Regions from separate parts of the Homo sapiens genome. Here regions 1 and 2 are each linked to region 3. Evidence: promoter capture Hi-C in human tissues and cell types (Jung and others, 2019). All regions are on one chromosome and are shown on one strand. Each heading gives the region's core, a stretch centred on a gene start or on the middle of the fragment in contact. The rest is flanking DNA. Distances are from core to core; before and after follow the strand shown.

What was found. Contacts are between HindIII fragments. The study calls those that stand out against the background at their distance.
Region 1: a contact is called between a fragment that was not itself captured here and the fragment with the promoter of GID8 in region 3, in 1 of the 25 tissues and cell types used here (spleen).
Region 2: a fragment that was not itself captured here is called in contact with the fragment with the promoter of GID8 in region 3 in 1 of the 25 tissues and cell types used here (spleen).

The regions. Positions count from the first base shown.
Region 1 is chr20:62,663,099-62,666,318 of GRCh38, forward strand. It overlaps SLCO4A1 (solute carrier organic anion transporter family member 4A1), which reads left to right. Exons shown (of 12, transcript NM_016354.4): 6 at 1,836-1,990. It overlaps SLCO4A1-AS1 (SLCO4A1 antisense RNA 1), which reads right to left. Exons shown (of 4, transcript NR_024470.1): 2 at 2,762-2,912; 3 at 1,826-2,399; 4 at 1-389. Among named protein-coding and RNA genes, the nearest start is that of SLCO4A1-AS1, 1.9 kb to the right of the region's middle. The HindIII fragment of the contact is 7,352 bases long and covers 1-3,220 here.
Region 2 is chr20:63,264,975-63,268,304 of GRCh38, forward strand. No RefSeq gene overlaps it. Among named protein-coding and RNA genes, the nearest start is that of ARFGAP1, 6.2 kb to the right of the region's middle. The HindIII fragment of the contact is 7,334 bases long and covers 1-3,330 here.
Region 3 is chr20:62,936,363-62,939,779 of GRCh38, forward strand. It overlaps GID8 (GID complex subunit 8 homolog), which reads left to right and starts at 1,785. Exons shown (of 5, transcript NM_017896.3): 1 at 1,785-1,891. It also overlaps a transcript of DIDO1 not described here. RefSeq lists silencers at 986-1,035, 1,306-1,355, 1,726-1,955, 2,026-2,155 and an enhancer at 1,851-2,519. The HindIII fragment of the contact is 10,021 bases long and covers 1-3,417 here.

The DNA of each region.
Region 1 (3,220 bases), core at 489-2,988, 270 kb before region 3:
CTGAGGTCAGTCTGAGCGAGCCAGCGAACACCTCCAAGCAGGCAGAGTGCCTGTGAGGCTGGAGCGGAGTTTCTGACGCCAACATCAGCTCTGCAAGGCACCTGTGGGCCTGTTGGGGCTCAGAGGCTAACTAGGGCTGCACCGTCTGTTCCTGATTCTTCAGAATCCATTTACATTTGGCCACCTCCTCAAACAAGAGCATTTGAATGTTCCAGGCATTCAGAGTTGCGTTCATCGGAACCAGGCTCTAGGTGTGGCCGAGAGGAAAGAGCCGCCCTCCTGCAGGTGGGGGTGATGTGAGGCCGACAGTCTGCTCTGGTGAGAGGCTGGAAAGTGTAGGTTTACAGGATGTCACTAAGCTGCAGACGCAGGGGTTCAAGTCAGCGACACTGCGGTGTGAGCAGAGGCGACATGGACATGTCATTTATTGTGAAAATTTGCATTACTGTGGGCTGATGTGAGAGGCTATTGTGCCATGACCTGGGGCTTCAGGAACAGTCTCTGCCCCTGGTCTATGTTATGAGTTCCAGGGACAGGACAATAGCTGTGTCTGCAAACACCCCCACCTGAGGCCGAGAGCCCCCCACTCAGTGGGGGAGAAGGGTCACGCACAGGAGCGTGCTGTGAACAGGATGCAGGCAGCTGTGAGCTGGGATGAATGTGAGCTTTGCCCAGTCTGGGTGATCTGTGTACCCCAGAGAGAGCCGAGCCTCTCTTTGCAGAGGCGGTTTCCCTTCTGTCTGCCTCGATCACTGCACTGGCTGGGAGGGCTTTGCGTGGTTTACACCATGCAACACGTTTTCCATCTCAGCATCTTATGCGCTTAAGCAGCGGTTGGGCGTTAGCCCTGCTCAGGCCTCCAATGCTAACAAAAACAGGGAGAGCCTCCATTCACCCCCCAGGGCCTCGTGTGCAGGGACAGGCAGCCCCGACGCACTGCTGTCGGCCACCTCCTGGGTTAGAAACTGCAAGGCCTGATGTGGGGCCTTCCCAGCTTCCAGGGGGCTATGTCCTTATCCTGAGACCCCACAGCCAGGACCGCAACAGGCAGATGTGGAGGCTGAGGCTGAGCCCTCAGGGCCAGACGGCTCAGAGTTCCCACAGTTCCCCCCAGGGCTCCAGGCCCATGCACCAAGGACTCGCCCCAGTTGAGGCCTCACCACCCCCAGGGCCACTGGCCCCCAAGTGCAAACCAAGCTAGCCAGGTCCGTCTACCCAGGGGCTTCTTGCATGGAGGGTTCGAATCCCAGTGGCTTCCTGCCCCACTTCTCCCAGGGGCTGGCGGTTGGGGACTGGCCACAGTCCCCATTCCCGTGATTCCATTCCCCTATCCCAGGGCCTGTCCGGTCCTGGACTTGGTGGCCTCTGCCTGCCCCAGCCAGTTCCCTTTTTCAGGCCCTGCTGCTGGCCAGTGACGGAACAGGGTCCTGGGTCACTTGGGGTCTCTCCCCACCTGAGCTGAAGCTCTGGCCAAGGCACTGATAAGGTTTTTCCCTAATCAGGGACTGCAGCTTTCAGGACAAGTGGGCCACAGGCATAGGCTCAGCCTGGCGCCCCCTGGGTTTCTCTGGAATAAGTGTGGGTGTCCCCCACCTGCCTGCACCCCACTCTACTCCCTGTCGGAACAGGGGCCCTTTGTAATCAGACCGGGGAGCTGACAGCCTCAGGAACAGCAGGTTCCTCCCACCCTGGGTCTGGCCCACTCTGACCCTCAGTCTCTTCTCCACACCCCGACCTCTGCCCACCACTCTGACCCTCAGTCTCTTCTCCACACCCCGACCTCTGCCCACCACTCTGACCCTCAGTCTCTTCTCCACACCCCCACCTCTGCCCAGCTCCATCTGGCTCCTGCTGAAGAACCCCACGTTCATCCTGCTCTGCCTGGCCGGGGCCACCGAGGCCACTCTCATCACCGGCATGTCCACGTTCAGCCCCAAGTTCTTGGAGTCCCAGTTCAGCCTGAGTGCCTCAGAAGCTGCCACCTTGTTTGGTGAGAAAACTGAATCTTGGGGGTCCTCTGCTTTTATGTCAGTTCTCAGAAACAGAGTCTTCAAGGGCATCTTCTAGAAAGACCCAGACAGGGCACATGGCAGTGAGTGCCCTCCCACCCCCGCTGCCAGAGCAGGTGTGGAGAGCGCCACGGGGGCTGAGCGACTCTGTCCACAGGCCGGGAGAGTGGTGGTCCTGCCCTCTTTGTGGGACATGCTCCGTAGGTGGAAGGGTCCACGGTGGGCTCCACCCCCTAGCCACCTAGTCTTGGCTTCTGTGACTTGGTGCAGGAAGGGTTTGGACCTGGCTGTTCCATGAGCCAGGCACTGGTGCCTCAGGACCTCCTGGAACAGTGCAGCTGGGGGTTTCTCGGTGCCAGAGGCAGGCTGGCCTTCCCAGGCTGGGCAGGTCTGCAGAAAGTGGGGACCCCTCCTCAGAGCTGCTCCTCCTGCCAGCGTTCACAGAGTACCCTGGGCCATGGCAGAGGTGCCAGGCATGTGGGCCACCACCGCCAATCTACCGCGCTCTACCCTTCCAGGGTCCACTATCTGGACAGGAAGAGGGCATCAGATGAGGGCTCCCCTCCCTCCCCCACAGGCCCATCCTGGCCTGGCCCCTCTGGGCTGACCTCACAAGCCCACATTCCCACACTCAACAGCCCCCCAGAGGTCAGCTCTACTGCCCCTTGGAGAGCCTCCCCACCTGTCCCCCCAAATCTGTCCCCTCCCCACCTGTCCCCCCAAACCTGTCCCCTCTCCACCTGTCCCCTCACCTGTGCCCTCCTCACTTGTCAGCCCAGAAGCTAGATGCCAGCTAATCGCAATTTTTTACTGTTGGTGGCCACTCAGGCTTCGACAAATGTCCTTGTCACAGCCTGCAGGGACTCGGCAGAGGCCCCTGGGGGAGGAGGGGGTGTGGCTGCCCTGGAGGGGGGTCAGTGGAGGAGTCATTGGCTTCCCACTGGGGCAGGGGCCGCTGACCTTGGAGCACTCTGGGCTCTCCTCCTCCCCCCGCCCCGCCCCGCCCCCCCGCTCCCCCTTCCCCTTCCCCTTCCCCTTCCCCTTCCCCTCTGAGGCATCCCCGCTGTGGGCTCTGGACAGAGGTCCCTCCTAGGGCTCTATCAGCGCAACAGCTAAGCACTCAGGTGTGGTGTTGAGTGCTGCCATGCAGGCAGGAATTGATCCCTCTATGCCTCAGTTTCCCCACCTGTAAAGTGGACCCGGCTGATCCA
Region 2 (3,330 bases), core at 749-3,248, 330 kb after region 3:
TTTCATCCTTAAAATGCACTTGAATTTCACTTTGTAATGTACTTAAGGTTGTTTTAATATTGAAACAATGTTATTTTTAGTTTATTTTTCTAGATGAAGTCTCACTCTGTCGCCCAGGCTGGAGTACATTGGTGCGATCTCGATCTTGGCTCACTGCAACCTCCACCTCCCCGGTTCAAGCAACTCTCCTGCCTCAGCCTCCTGAGTACCTGGGATTATGGGTACCCACCACCATGCCTAGCTAATTTTTGTTTTTTTGGTAGAGACAGTGTCTTATCATGTTGGCCAAGCTGGTCTCGAACTCCTGACCTCAGGTGATCTCCCTGCCTCGGCCTCCCAAAGTGCTGGGATTGCAGGTGTGAGCCACGGCACCCAGCCTGAAACAACATTTTAAACTGCTAATCAGGCCTACAGTTTATATGCCTCTGCACAAGCCCTGCCCCCCTTTCCTGGGCAGGGGTGGGGTGGGGAGATGTCTCAGTGCCCCCATAGCCCAGTCCTTTCTCTCCCCCCACCCTCCCTGCCCCGACCCTCACACTGCCCCGTCCTGCAGGAGAGAGGCATCCCAGTTTGGGAAGCTGGTAATGCCCACCACTCGGTCACCAGTGTTGGTACCGCTCTGGCTGTCGGCAACTGGCTGGGCCTGGGGACACATGGGAACAACTCCGATCACACAGGAAGAGTTTCCCGGTCCCTCGGGACCATGGAAGCCCAGCCACACAGCACCGGTTTGAGGCAAGGCTCTCAATACCTCGCCCTCCGTGCCCAACACCTTGGTCTTCTGCTAGGGGTCCTCACAGTCTGGGGAAACTGAGTCCACATGGGCCTCAGGGCTGGAGCTTGGAGCCCAGGGCACCCAGTCAGCACATTCTATCCTCCTGGCCGGTGATTGTTTGGAAGTGGACACATGACCCCAGCTAGGCCCATCAGGGTGGAGCGTGAGCTTTCAGCTGGGATGCCGGTGCAAGGCTACTTTCTCTTGCTGGAGGCGAATCATGAAGCTTGCAGCCTTAGAAGCTGCCAGAAGCATCCTGGGGTCTCAGGATGAAGACGGAACTGCAAACATACACAGAGAATCCTGGTTCTCAGCAATAGTGCTGAGCTGCTGGATCAAGCCACACCTGAAATTGAACTTTGTTCTAGAATTTTCATCACACAAATCAATACATTCCCTTTGCTAAGCCATTTGGGGTTGAGATTTTTGCCTCTAGCAACTAGAATCTGGAAAGATTCCTGGCTAAGATACGCATGGGAGGGTCCAAAGCAGGAGGACCCTGCGGGTCCAGCTGTCACAGCCCCAGGATCTGAGCTACCAGTTCTGCAATCTGAGAAGCTGGCCTGGTCTCAGCACATTCTTAGCTGTGACTCCTTAGCCGCTGTGGCCACACGTAATTCAGCACAGCTGCAAGTTTCTTGGAGCTCAGGACAGAGCGGCTCAGCATTTTCGAGGAACATTTGTACTTCTGGGTGACTTACACACCCTGACATTCTTCCCATTTCCTTCTGTCCTGGGCCCCAGTTCTTCTGGACGCCACGCACAGGCAGCAGAAGTGGGGGCAGACGGGGCTGGAACCAGCCAGGTGGAGTCCCACCATGCAGCAGGCCAGAAGCCAGGACCAAGGCAGCACCGTCGTGGGCAGCCCCGGGCCAACCCCACGCGCTTCTCTCCAGGACCCAGGCGGCACCGTCGTGGGCAGCCCCGCACTAACCCCACGCGCTTCTCTCCAGGACCCAGGCGGCACCGTCGTGGGCAGCCCCGGGCCAACCCCACGCGCTTCTCTCCAGGACCCAGGCGGCACCGTCGTGGGCAGCCCCGGGCCAACCCCACGCGCTTCTCTCCAGGACCCAGGCGGCACCGTCGTGGGCAGCCCCGGGCCAACCCCACGCGCTTCTCTCCAGGACCCAGGCGGCACCGTCGTGGGCAGCCCCGGGCCAACCCCACGCGCTTCTCTCCAGGACCCAGGCGGCACCGTCGTGGGCAGCCCCGGGCCAACCTCACGTGCTTCTCTCCAGATACAGGACAAAGCTGTTTCAGAAGGACCTGGTGGTGGAAGATGATCAACAGGAGACAAAAATGGGCAGAGAAAAACACAGGCATCCACAGGACACACCATGGCCAGGCCGTGTTTGCTTGGCCTCACCACCATTAAGATGAGAAAATTAAACAGCGATGGCGACGCGTGTGCTTAGAGCCCGGCGGAGACAGCCCCCTTGGTAATGGCAGCCAGGGAGGGGACGCAAGGAACAGGCACACTCCCATCAGCGCATCTGGCACAGGGGTTTGGAGGACAATTTGGTGGAATCTCCCAGAACTTACCTGGCACTTCCACCTCTAGAGGTCTATGTTGTGGAAATACTCGCACAAACAGAGAGAGGTCACCGCACAAAGATGTCCAGTGCAACATCGAAGGTAAAACAAAGTAATGATGATTGTGACAGGAGAGTCCTGTCTTCCAATCAGAGGCCAGTTAGAGAACGTAAGAGACCTCAGTGGTTAAGATGAACAAGCCTCTGCTATAGAGGGGACGCAAGAAAGCCACCAATCAAGGTGTGAGTAGCAGGGAAGCCCAGGCCGTGTGCCTGTTTATGCAGAAGACAAGATCTGGGCAGGTCCACCCCAAACTGCTGGCCGTGCTCCCTCTGGAGGTCCTGCCCAGGACCAAAGGGGCTTTCAAGCCTCCAAGGGGCACCCCCATGGTGCCCTGGGGTTGTAGAATGCCTCCTTCCTGAAAGCCCCACCTGCGAGTCAGCTCCCCTGCCTCACTTCTTCCCCCCGTCACCGCTCAAGCTGGCTGTGACTGTGGTGGCAATGCAGGACCCAGCAGTTGAGCTACAGGAATTTCCCTGGAGCTGCCTCTGTGTGAGCCCTGGCCGGACACACCAAGAGACAGGGAGAGGGCGAGGGGATGAGCCAACCCTCCAGCAACTCCCAGACAACGGGGCAGGGCAGGGCCAGGGGAATGACCAGAATTCTCTCAAGTGGAGGGTGCAGAGGGCGTGGGTGAGTGAGCAGGGGCTGGAGGCCCCCAGCAGCTGCACGAGAGGGCGGGGCAGAGACAAGACCAGAACCCAAGTTCCTAGGAGGCCTGGAATGATGAGTTTATTCCTGGGATTTTATTCCTAGGATGATGGTGCTGAGCGAGGTCTGGGCAGAAAGAAGGAACTTCTGGGCAGGAGAACTTCAGGGGACTCTACCATGAAGTGTGGAGCGCTGAGCAGGGAACAGCCTGAGCATGGAGCAGCCCAGCGAGTGTGGGGCTTTCTGGCTTTGGCTCAAGGTGACCTGACTTGCAGGTTGATGCTGGTGATGGAGAGGGTTGGAGAGAGAGA
Region 3 (3,417 bases), core at 535-3,034:
GCCAACATGGTGAAACCCCACCCGTACTAAAAATACAAAATAAGTAGCCGGGCGTGGTGGCGGGTGCCTGTAGTTCCAGCTACTCGGGAGGCTGAGGCAGGAGAATCACTTGAACCCAGGAGGCGGAGGTTGCAGTGAGTCGAGATCATGACAGTGCACTCCAGCCTGGGCAACAAAGTGAGACTCCTTCTCAAAAAATAGAATAAAATAAAATCAAAATAGGCCGGGAGCGGTGGCTCACGCCTGTAATCCCAGCACTTTGGGAGTCCGAGGCGGGCGGATCACGAGGTCAAGACACTGAGACCAGCCTGACCAACAAGGGGAAACCCCGTCTCTACTAAAAATACAAAAATTAGCTGGGCGTGGTGGTGCGCCCCTGTGGTCCCAGCTACTCGGGAGGCTGAGGCAGGAGAATCGCTTGAACCCGGGAGGCGGAGGTTGCAGTGAGCCGAGATGGCGCCACTGCGCTCCAGCCTGGGCGAGAGTGAGACTTCGTCTCAAAATAAATAACTAAATAAAGACCAATAACTGTTTCCCATAGGGTTATGTAGTTGCAAATGAAAAAATTACTGGCATGTACTGCCTCTGCATATGAAGCATAATTTTGTCAAGACCTTATACCTGCAGATTTAGCTCTTTCGATTAACGGAAAATGTCCAAAATCAGTCTCCTCCAACCTATTTGCCGAACTGGACTTACTGTCGCTGAGTAGACCGACCGACATAGCTTACACGTTGTTCAGCTCGCTTGTAAGCAAACACACGAAACCACCTCACCCCTGACTTCAGAAAGAAGCCGTCCCGTGAATTCCTCACAGATGAAATCAGGAGCTGCCCCTCAAGGACTCTATTTCTTCCTTCGGCTCTATCAAATATTTTAAGGTACTTCCCAGCAACGGAAACATGGGACCCTGCAATGACAGACTTCGCATTCCTCCTGAGCGGACAGGCAATAAGCAAGTAAACGCGCAAATACCCAAGTGCGGCCTCAACCCGCGCTCCTGCCGGGAGGGTCTCCAGTCACCGAGTAACCCCGGCCCTGCCCCGCGCCGCCGCCGGGACTCCGCCCCGCAAGCAAGTGGGGTCTCCTTTGTCCCGCGCGCCCTGGCCGCGTCCCGCCCTTCGGCGTAGCCCATGGGAGGCGCCCTGAGGGCAGGGCCCTTCTGATTCCCCACCTGGCCTCGAGTGAGGACGCGCTCAACAACATCTCGAGTAAAGCGGGGGAACTCGCTTCAACGCGCAGACAGCACAGCTCTCGCCCAGCCCGGTCTCGGGTCAGCCGTCTCTCCCTGGACCTCAGGGACACTAGCCCTGGAAGGCCGCCGGTCGGGAGGGGACTCCCTCCCCGTCTGAGGGGCGGCCGCGGACACCCGGCGCCTTTCCCCCGCCCCACCCCGTGCGGCCTCACGCAAACGACAGGAAAAAAGCTGGGACCTTCGCCTCCGACTCAGTGTAGACGTCGCCATCCCGGTTCCAGATTTCCGCGCTCCAACGCCTCCGCAGCAGCCATCTTGCCAGAGGGCCGACGCCTTTTGACTCTGGCGCCAACCCGTAGTGCGTGGTCGCCGCGAGGGGAGTTCTGCGCAAGTACGGAAGCTGAGGTTCCGCGCTTCCGGGAGGCCGTCCGCCCCGCCCCCTCGCGGGGGCGCTTCATTGGTCATCGGCTCGCGCTCTCGCGCTCTCTTGCTGTCGCGAGAGGTGCTGAGGGGCGGCCTCCGGTGCGCCTGCCCTCCCGCTCCCCGCCCCCGCCCCCGCCCCCGCCTCCGCCGCGGCCCCCACCTCTGCCTCCTTCTACTCGGGCGCCCCGGCGGCCGCCACCTCTCCCCAGCCCAGGAGAGGCTGCGGAGCCGCAGCCGCCCAGACCGCGCAGCGCGGGAGGCAGGTTCCGCACGGTAAGATGGCGGCGGCGGGCCCGGGCGGCCGGGCCGAGCGTCTCCCGGGGCCGGGCCGGGCGGGCAGGCGGGATGTGGCCGGGGTGCGCGCCGCCCCCGCTCTGGGGGCCTTGGAAGCGCCGGCGCTGGCAGGTGCGGAATTGGGGCGCGCAGTGAGTCCAGGCCCGGACGGCCGCCCCGCGCCGGTGCCCAGGGGGCAGTCAGGGCTCAGCCTCCAGGCGCGCGGCCTCAGGCGCTGGTGTTCTGGGGCGGTCCCGGCCAGCCTGAGGGGCGGCGGTAGCTGTCTCTGTGGAGGAGCGACGTCCGTAACGAAGTCTTTTTAATAAAATCTGCTGCTTTAAAGCAGAAACCGAGCGGGTGAGGATGTAAAGTGTGGCATGGAAAGTAGGAGTCTTCAGCACACGGGTGTTTTCTTCTGCTGAATCTTTTTATGCTGGAGTTTGAGACTACCGAGTTCTTCCTGCTAACAGGACTGGCCAGTTCTACAAAGTTGTTGCTTTTCATGGGCGCACGTAACTGCCCGGAGTGGAAGCGCTGTGAGTGCCGATCACCGAATGGGCCGAGAGAAAAGGTGCCTTTTCCTAGGGAGCTCTTAACGTTGGTCCTAGGGCCGGGCGCGGTGGCGGAGGTCGAAGTGGGCGGATCACTTGAGCCCGCGAGTTCGAGACCAGCCGTGGCAACAGCGAGACTCCCTTCTCTGCTAAAAATAAAAAAATTAGCCAGGCAGAGTGGTGCGCTCCTGTTGTCCCAGTTACTCTGGAGGCTGAGGTGGGAGGATCGCTTGAGCCCAGGAGGTCGAGGCTGCGGTGAGCCATGATCGCGCCACTGCCCTCCAGCCTGGGCGACAGAGCGAGGCTCTGTCTCAAAAAAAAAAGAAAAAGAAAATGAGTCCTTAAGTTACCATTAATTGTCGTGAATAAAAAGTTGGTCTCAGTGAGTTTTGCAGTTGACAACGAAAGATGGGTGTTCGTGTGTGACAGCGACTCCTGGTTTCTCCTCCACTTTACCTGCCGCTCCACATCAAGTTTTCTTCTGCTGGTGCCACTTTCTCTGCTTTACCTTCAAGGTTGGCATCCTCCAAGTAATGGCGATTCTCATTCCCTATCTACGCTCTTCCTATGGTCTTTGCTGAATTCTTGGCTTTAAATATCCCTGTGCCCCAGCACCGCCCCCCCCGCCCCTTATTTCACTAATTCATGTTTTCAGCTCTGAGCTCAGGATCTGTAATTCAGACACCTGCTTGATTTCTCCAGACGCATGTCTAATAGTCACGTCAAACTTGCCCTGCTTCTCAAACCTGTTCTTCTTCCAGTCCTTCCTCCTTATTTGTGGCCCCATCTTGCAGGGCCTCTCATGCTTGAAACCTGTGACCATCTTCTATTCTTCCCTCTCTTTTGTCCGGTAATCTGTCTAGCAGCAGCCATTGACTCTGGCCAAAGCATCTTGATCTCACCTTGCTCTCCATCTCTTCTGCCGATGTTCTCTCTCGCTTGGGTGTCTCCCTAAGGGACTGGCTGCTCAGATCT